Linked DNA regions of Homo sapiens: region 2 is linked to region 1. Evidence: promoter capture Hi-C in 16 types of primary human blood cells and fetal thymus (Javierre and others, 2016). All regions are on one chromosome and are shown on one strand. The core of a region is centred on a gene start or on the middle of the fragment in contact, and the rest is flanking DNA. Distances in the headings are between cores, read along the strand shown. Region 1 holds the start of CDC42BPG (CDC42 binding protein kinase gamma). Region 2 overlaps ATG2A (autophagy related 2A).

What was found. The method cuts DNA at HindIII sites, captures the fragments that hold promoters and counts their contacts. A CHiCAGO score of 5 or more calls a contact.
Region 2: a contact is called between a fragment that was not itself captured here and the fragment with the promoter of CDC42BPG in region 1, in 16 of 17 cell types (naive CD4 T cells, M0 macrophages, megakaryocytes and 13 more). The highest score is 10.3, in naive CD4 T cells.

The regions. Positions count from the first base shown.
Region 1 is chr11:64,843,189-64,846,318 of GRCh38, reverse strand. CDC42BPG (CDC42 binding protein kinase gamma) reads left to right here and starts at 1,666. Exons shown (of 37, transcript NM_017525.3): 1 at 1,666-1,909. The coding sequence starts at 1,750. RefSeq lists silencers at 1,487-1,836, 1,847-1,896, 1,927-1,976 and enhancers at 2,191-3,003, 3,028-3,130. The HindIII fragment of the contact is 2,728 bases long and covers 938-3,130 here.
Region 2 is chr11:64,895,000-64,898,129 of GRCh38, reverse strand. ATG2A (autophagy related 2A) reads left to right here. Exons shown (of 41, transcript NM_015104.3): 34 at 1-44; 35 at 156-291; 36 at 387-459; 37 at 636-718; 38 at 1,261-1,382; 39 at 1,514-1,668; 40 at 2,688-2,840; 41 at 2,921-3,130. Among named protein-coding and RNA genes, the nearest start is that of MIR6750, 1.9 kb to the left of the region's middle. The HindIII fragment of the contact is 4,812 bases long and covers 1-3,130 here.

The DNA of each region.
Region 1 (3,130 bases), core at 417-2,916:
CATGTAATCCCAGCACTTTGGGAGGCCGAGGCAGAAGGATCACCTGAAGTCAGGAGTTTGAGATCAGCCTGGCCAACATGGCAAAACCCTATCTCTACTAAAAATACAAAAATTAGCTGGGTGTGGTGGCACATGCCTATAATCCCAGCTACTTGGGAGGCTGAGGCAGGAGACTCTCTTGAACCTGGGAGGCAGAGGTTGCAGTGAGCCGAGATCGTGCCACTGCACTCTGGCCTGGGTGACAGCGTGAGACACCATCTCAAAAAACAAAACATCAGCCTGGCCTAGTGGTGTGAGCCTGTAGTCTCAGCTATTCGGGAGGCTGAGGTGGGAGGATCACTTGAACCCAGGAGGTTGAGGCTGTGGTGAGCTACGATTGCACCACTGCACTCCAGCCTAGGGGACAGAGTGAGACCCTGTCTCAAAAAAGAGAAAGAAGTGTTGTCTAGGCCGGGTGTAGTTGCCCATGTCTGTAATCCCAGAACTCCGGGAGGCCAAGGTGGGAGGATTACCTGAGCCCAGGAGTTCGAGACCAGCCTGGTCAACATAACAATAACCCTTGACTCCAAAAAGTAAAATAAAAAATCAGCTGGGTGTGGTGGCATCTGCCTGTAATCCCAGCTACTCAAGAGGCTGAGGCAGGAGCCTAAGAGGTCAAGGCTGCAGTGAGTTATGATTGCATCACTGCACTCCAGCATGGGTGACAGAGAGACCCTGTCTCAAAAAAAAAAAAAAAAAAGTGTTGTCTGAAGCCACCAATATGTCCCACCCTTTGATCTCTCCTCATGGTGCCTGGTCCATCCCAGCTGGACAGAAATCAGAAATACCACTGGACAGAGCCAGCCCCTCCCCTCCCCAACCTCCTCCAGCCTATCTCAGACCTCTCCTTGCCCTTCACGTTCCAGGTCAGACCTCAGGCCCTGCTCCTACTGAAGCTTAAAACGCCTGTGGTGTTGGTACCAGCCCAGCTCCACCTCCACCCCAGGGTCTAACTTAAGAGCCACCTTGTCCTCAGCCCCTCAATTCGCCTTCCTCCTTCCCAAGCCTCAGTGTGTCCATCTGCCAAATGGGCGTGACCATCCCTACCCCAACTTCCTGTCTCCCACATCAACTCTAATGATACAATCAAAGTAAGATTCAGAAACTTTTTTTTGGGCGGGGGCGGGGGGGCGATGGGTGCCAAGCGCGGGCAAACCATGGAGAGAGCGAACTACAATTCCCATCCGGCTCCGGGGCCGCGGGCGTCCCTAGCCCCTCTCTCTTAGCCAAGGGCAAGGCGGCTGCGACCCAGGGGGCGAGAGAAGTTGCAGTGCTCCGCGCCTCCTGGGTCAGGGCCCAGGGAGGGCCCAGGTAAGTCTGGGTCTGGGGCCGCGCGGGGATCTGGGGAGTCTTTCCGACCCCGCAGAACCCCACCGCGCCCCGCGCAGAAGTCAGTTGTTCTCCCCGGCCCGCCCCCGCACTTCCTGGCCGGGAGTTGGGCCCGCCCCCGCGCGCCTCCGCCCCCACCTTCACCTCTAGCCGCGGCTCCCATTGGCCGGCGCGCACCTGCCCGTCCGTCGGGGGGCGGGGCGCGGCGCCCAGGTGAGGGCGCGCTGGCGGCGGCGGAGGAAGGTGACAGCGGGGAGGGCGGGAGAGGGGCGGGGGAGGACGCGCGGACAGAGCCTCAGACGGTTGGGCGGACGGACGGCCCGACAGGCGGGCATGCGGGCGGCCAGACTGTAGCCGAGCAGCGAGGCTCCGGCCGCAGCCATGGAGCGGCGGCTGCGCGCGCTGGAGCAGCTGGCGCGGGGCGAGGCCGGCGGCTGCCCGGGGCTCGACGGCCTCCTAGATCTGCTGCTGGCGCTGCACCACGAGCTCAGCAGCGGCCCCCTACGGCGGGAGCGCAGCGTGGCGCAGTTCCTGAGCTGGGGTGAGTGGCGGGGCGGCACGGAGCGGGGGCGGGCCTAGGGATATCGCGCCGAGACCCCCGCACCCGCAGACTTTCCCGCAGGGACCCGCACCCCCACGGGCTTCCCTCGCAGACTCCCTGCAGTGGCCCTGACGCGTACCACCGGACCCCCGCGGCCCGCACACTCGCCTGCACACCTCACCCTCACTCCAATTCTCACACACGCTCTCTCCCTCTCACAGACCCCGACACATGCACACACATACCAACTTGTGCTCAGGTATCGACCGCAGACGCATGTACCCAGTGCACCGCCTAGAGTCCCTTACAGATTTCCTTGCTTACAGGCCACACCTGACGCAGGACACACACAGACCCTCATGCATGTCACCCACTGATACACGGGCTCTGTTTCTCCTTCCTCTCGGATGCATTGAGACACACAACTCATGGAGAGACCCAGGGAGCGCTGCAGACCACCCCGACCGCATTGGCACTGCAAAACACACAGATCTGTAGGTATCGCACACTTGCAGACCTTCCCCCCACCAACACACACACCCCCAGCTCCCTGGGTACAAGACCACTGCAGCCTGGACTCAGGAACCGATCTCCAACCCTTGGCCTGTGCAGGCTGCTGGCCAAGCTCCTTGGGGGCTGTGGCGCCGGGGCCGGGGAGGGGGGCCTAGCTGGAGATGGGTCTGTACCTTTCCTGGTAGACTCATCTGAGTCATTGGGAGTGGCTGGCCCGGGGTGACCCTGAACCCACTGTGGGCACTGGCGCCAGCTGGAGGGTTCCCTGGTCACACCCTGCCGGGCCATGGGGAAAAGGCACGGGGGCCTGGCCAGGGCGGGGTGAGGCAGGTGTTTGCCCAGTGGGCAACTAGCGTTCCTGGCACTCCTGAGCTCTGGGAAGGCACAAGGCCTGGGGTAGAGGGGGAGGCTGCCACCTAGATGTGCCAGGGAGTTGTCCCCTAGCCCCAACCCTTCCATCCAGGGCGAGGCAGTCAGAGGCCCCTGCCTCTGTGCCTGTCTCCCTGGTATGCCTCCGTGCTATGCCTGTCTGCCTGTGTTGTTGTCACCCCCCCCATGACACCCACACACGTGTGTGTGTTTGCACACACATGTGTGCTCCTCCCTGACTGCCTCCAGCACCTCTGCCTGGGACCCCGGCATGGGGGCCCTCTGTTGACAATCTCCCAAGGTAACTCAAAGGGCTGTGACTCATTCCTCTCCTGCTTG
Region 2 (3,130 bases), core at 451-2,950, 52 kb before region 1:
GGCCGGCATCAACCCCGTGGTCCCAGGGGAGACCTCCGCTGAGGGTGAGAGGCTGGGCCAGGGAGGGGAGCGTCTGGGCCTTCTGCCTCCCAGGACAGCACAGGTTCCCAGTCATTCCTGGCCCCATCCCCAGTCTGTGACCTCCCCTCCCCTAGCTCGCCCCGAGACTCGAGCCCAGCCCAGCAGCCCCCTGGAAGGGCAGGCCGAAGGCGTAGAGACCACTGGTTCGCAGGAGGCCCCAGGAGGTGGACACAGCCCCTCCCCTCCTGACCAGCAGCCCATCTACTTCAGGTAGGCTGCTGGACTGCGGGTGGGGGGCCCTGGGCCAGATTGCTGGGGGCCAGGCCAGTGAGCAAAGAACCCCCTCTTCCTGCTCCCCTACCCAGAGAGTTCCGCTTCACGTCTGAGGTCCCCATCTGGCTGGATTACCATGGCAAGCACGTCACGATGGACCAGGTGGTAAGTGGGGCGGTCGGATGGGGTGGCCATGTGGGGTCAGCTGTGGCTGAGTCCCTCTGGGGGCCAGGTCTTGCATCCAGGCACTGTTAGCAGCCAGGGCGCTCTCCAGTGGCTCCCATGGGCTAGCTAGCTCCCTGAGTCCCATTGGGTAAACCTGGACCCCCTCCCTCTCCCAGGGCACTTTTGCTGGCCTCCTCATCGGCCTGGCCCAACTCAACTGCTCCGAGCTGAAGCTAAAGCGGCTCTGTTGCAGGCACGGGTGAGTCCCCAGCACCCCAGCCTCTCTCCAGGGTCCCTGATCTTCCTTCTGTTCTGGTCCTGACTGGTTGTGTGGCCTTGGCCAAGTCATCACCCTTCTCAGGGCCTCAGTTTCTCCTCTGTAAAAAGGACGCAGTTGGCTGGGCATGATGGCTCACACATTCAGGCATTCGAGACCAGCCTGACCAACATGGTGAAACCCCCCCGTCTCTACTAAAAATACAAAAATTAGCCAGGCGTGGTGGCATACACATGTAATCCCAGCTACTCAGGAGGCTGAGGCAGGAGAACTGCTTGAACCTGGGAGGCGGTTGCAGTGAGCCAAGATCGCACCACTTCACTCCAGCCTGGGCAACGGAGCAAGACTCCATCTAAAAAAAAAAAAAAAGGACACAGTCCCTCTGCACATGACTGGGTGGGACCACAGGGAGGGTAGAGTGCCCACAGTACTTGCCACAGGGGTACTGAGTCCTCCTGACCCCACAATCCCTCCATGTGTGGCTCTGCCTCACCTTCTGCCTCCTCACCTCCCTGCCCTGCCAGGCTCCTGGGTGTGGACAAGGTGCTGGGCTATGCCCTCAACGAGTGGCTGCAGGACATCCGCAAGAACCAGCTGCCCGGCCTGCTGGGAGGCGTGGGCCCCATGCACTCGGTTGTCCAGCTCTGTGAGTGTCTAGGTTTGGAAGCCCTCGAAACTGCTTTTACCCTTGGGCAACCTAGAAGCTGCCATTGGGAATAAGAGGAGGAGGTGGGGGCAGGGCAGCCTCGGGTGTCTCTGAGCGCTCCTTCCCCCTAGTCCAAGGGTTCCGGGACCTGCTGTGGCTGCCCATTGAGCAGTACAGGAAGGATGGCCGCCTCATGCGGGGGCTGCAGCGAGGGGCTGCCTCCTTTGGCTCATCCACAGCCTCTGCCGCCCTGGAACTCAGCAACCGGTTGGTACAGGCTATCCAGGTGAGTGGGTGCCCTGTATCTGGGCTGTGCAGGACAGAGCAGCTGGAGCCCTCTGCACCACAGCTCCCTGGTTCTGTCCTCAAAGCTCCTCAGAGTGGGCAGTCTGGGTATGACAGCCCTACTTTATAGAGAAACAGCCACGGAGAGGCTAAGTGACTTGCCTGGGACCTCCAAGCCAGGTCTCCCGAGGCCCACAGGGGCTCCCATGCAGGAGCGGGAGTGCCCCCCAGGCCTTCAGAGCCCACTGTGTCTCCTGCTCATGGCATGTCTTGTAAAGGGGGGTGGAGGACGGCTGTGTTTGCAGACTAAGAATCTGAGGCGCAGAGGCTGCCCTGGTTCATTCAGGCCATACGCTTCGCTAGGCCAGAAGGACCCCAGGGAAGCTGGGGAGCCAGTCTCGTGGGCAGTTGTCAGATGAATTCTGTAGGGGATCGATGGTCCTAGGCGGCTAAGGGGTGAGTGCAGGTGCATGGTGCATTCTGGAACCTGCAAGCTCAGACCCCAACAGGACAGAGGGCAGGGCTCCAGGGGAGGTGGGAGGGATGCATGGGCACCAGGGAGCCCCCGGGAGTGTTCAGTCAGGTGGGAAAGAGTGATGCCAGGTGAGATGCTGGGCAGAGGATCTGGCAGACAGAAGGAAGGATGGGCCTCTGACCATCTGGCAGGGGCGTCTGGGGGGCCAGGCAAGGAGCGGTCAGTCTCAGGCGTGCAGCTGCGGCAGCCATGTGGAACCTGCTGAATGTGGTGGTCAGCAGGAAGAGAGGTTTGGGTTGAGAAGACTTTAGGAAAGTCCCCTGAGGAGTCCCACGTTCCTAGGTTCCCTCAGCAGAGTGGCAGGTGCCTAGGAAGGGGAGGAAGAGTGGGAGGAAGTGGGGAGTGAGGCTGAGCAGGACCCCCTAGGCCAGCACAGTGACAGGCAGGGAGGCTGAGGGCTGGTGGGGTCTCAGACTGTCCTGGGGGCCTGGGGCTGACGTGTGCCCCAGCCAGCTGTCCTCATCCAGTGCTCCCATGTCCCCCAGGCCACAGCTGAGACCGTGTATGACATCCTGTCCCCGGCAGCCCCCGTCTCCCGCTCCCTGCAGGATAAGCGCTCTGCGCGGAGGCTGCGCAGGGGCCAGCAGCCTGCCGACCTGCGGGAGGGTGTGGCCAAGGCCTACGACACAGTGCGAGAGGTGACCAGGCCCCCGCCCTGCCCCAGTCCCCCATGCCCATCTCCTCACACAGACCCCGCCCTGACCTCTGGCTTCCACAGGGCATCTTGGATACAGCTCAGACCATCTGTGACGTGGCATCGCGGGGCCATGAGCAGAAGGGGCTGACGGGCGCCGTGGGGGGCGTGATCCGCCAGCTGCCCCCGACTGTGGTGAAGCCGCTCATCCTGGCCACGGAGGCCACGTCCAGCCTGCTCGGGGGCATGCGCAACCAGATTGTCCCCGACGCCCACAAGGACCACGCCCTCAAG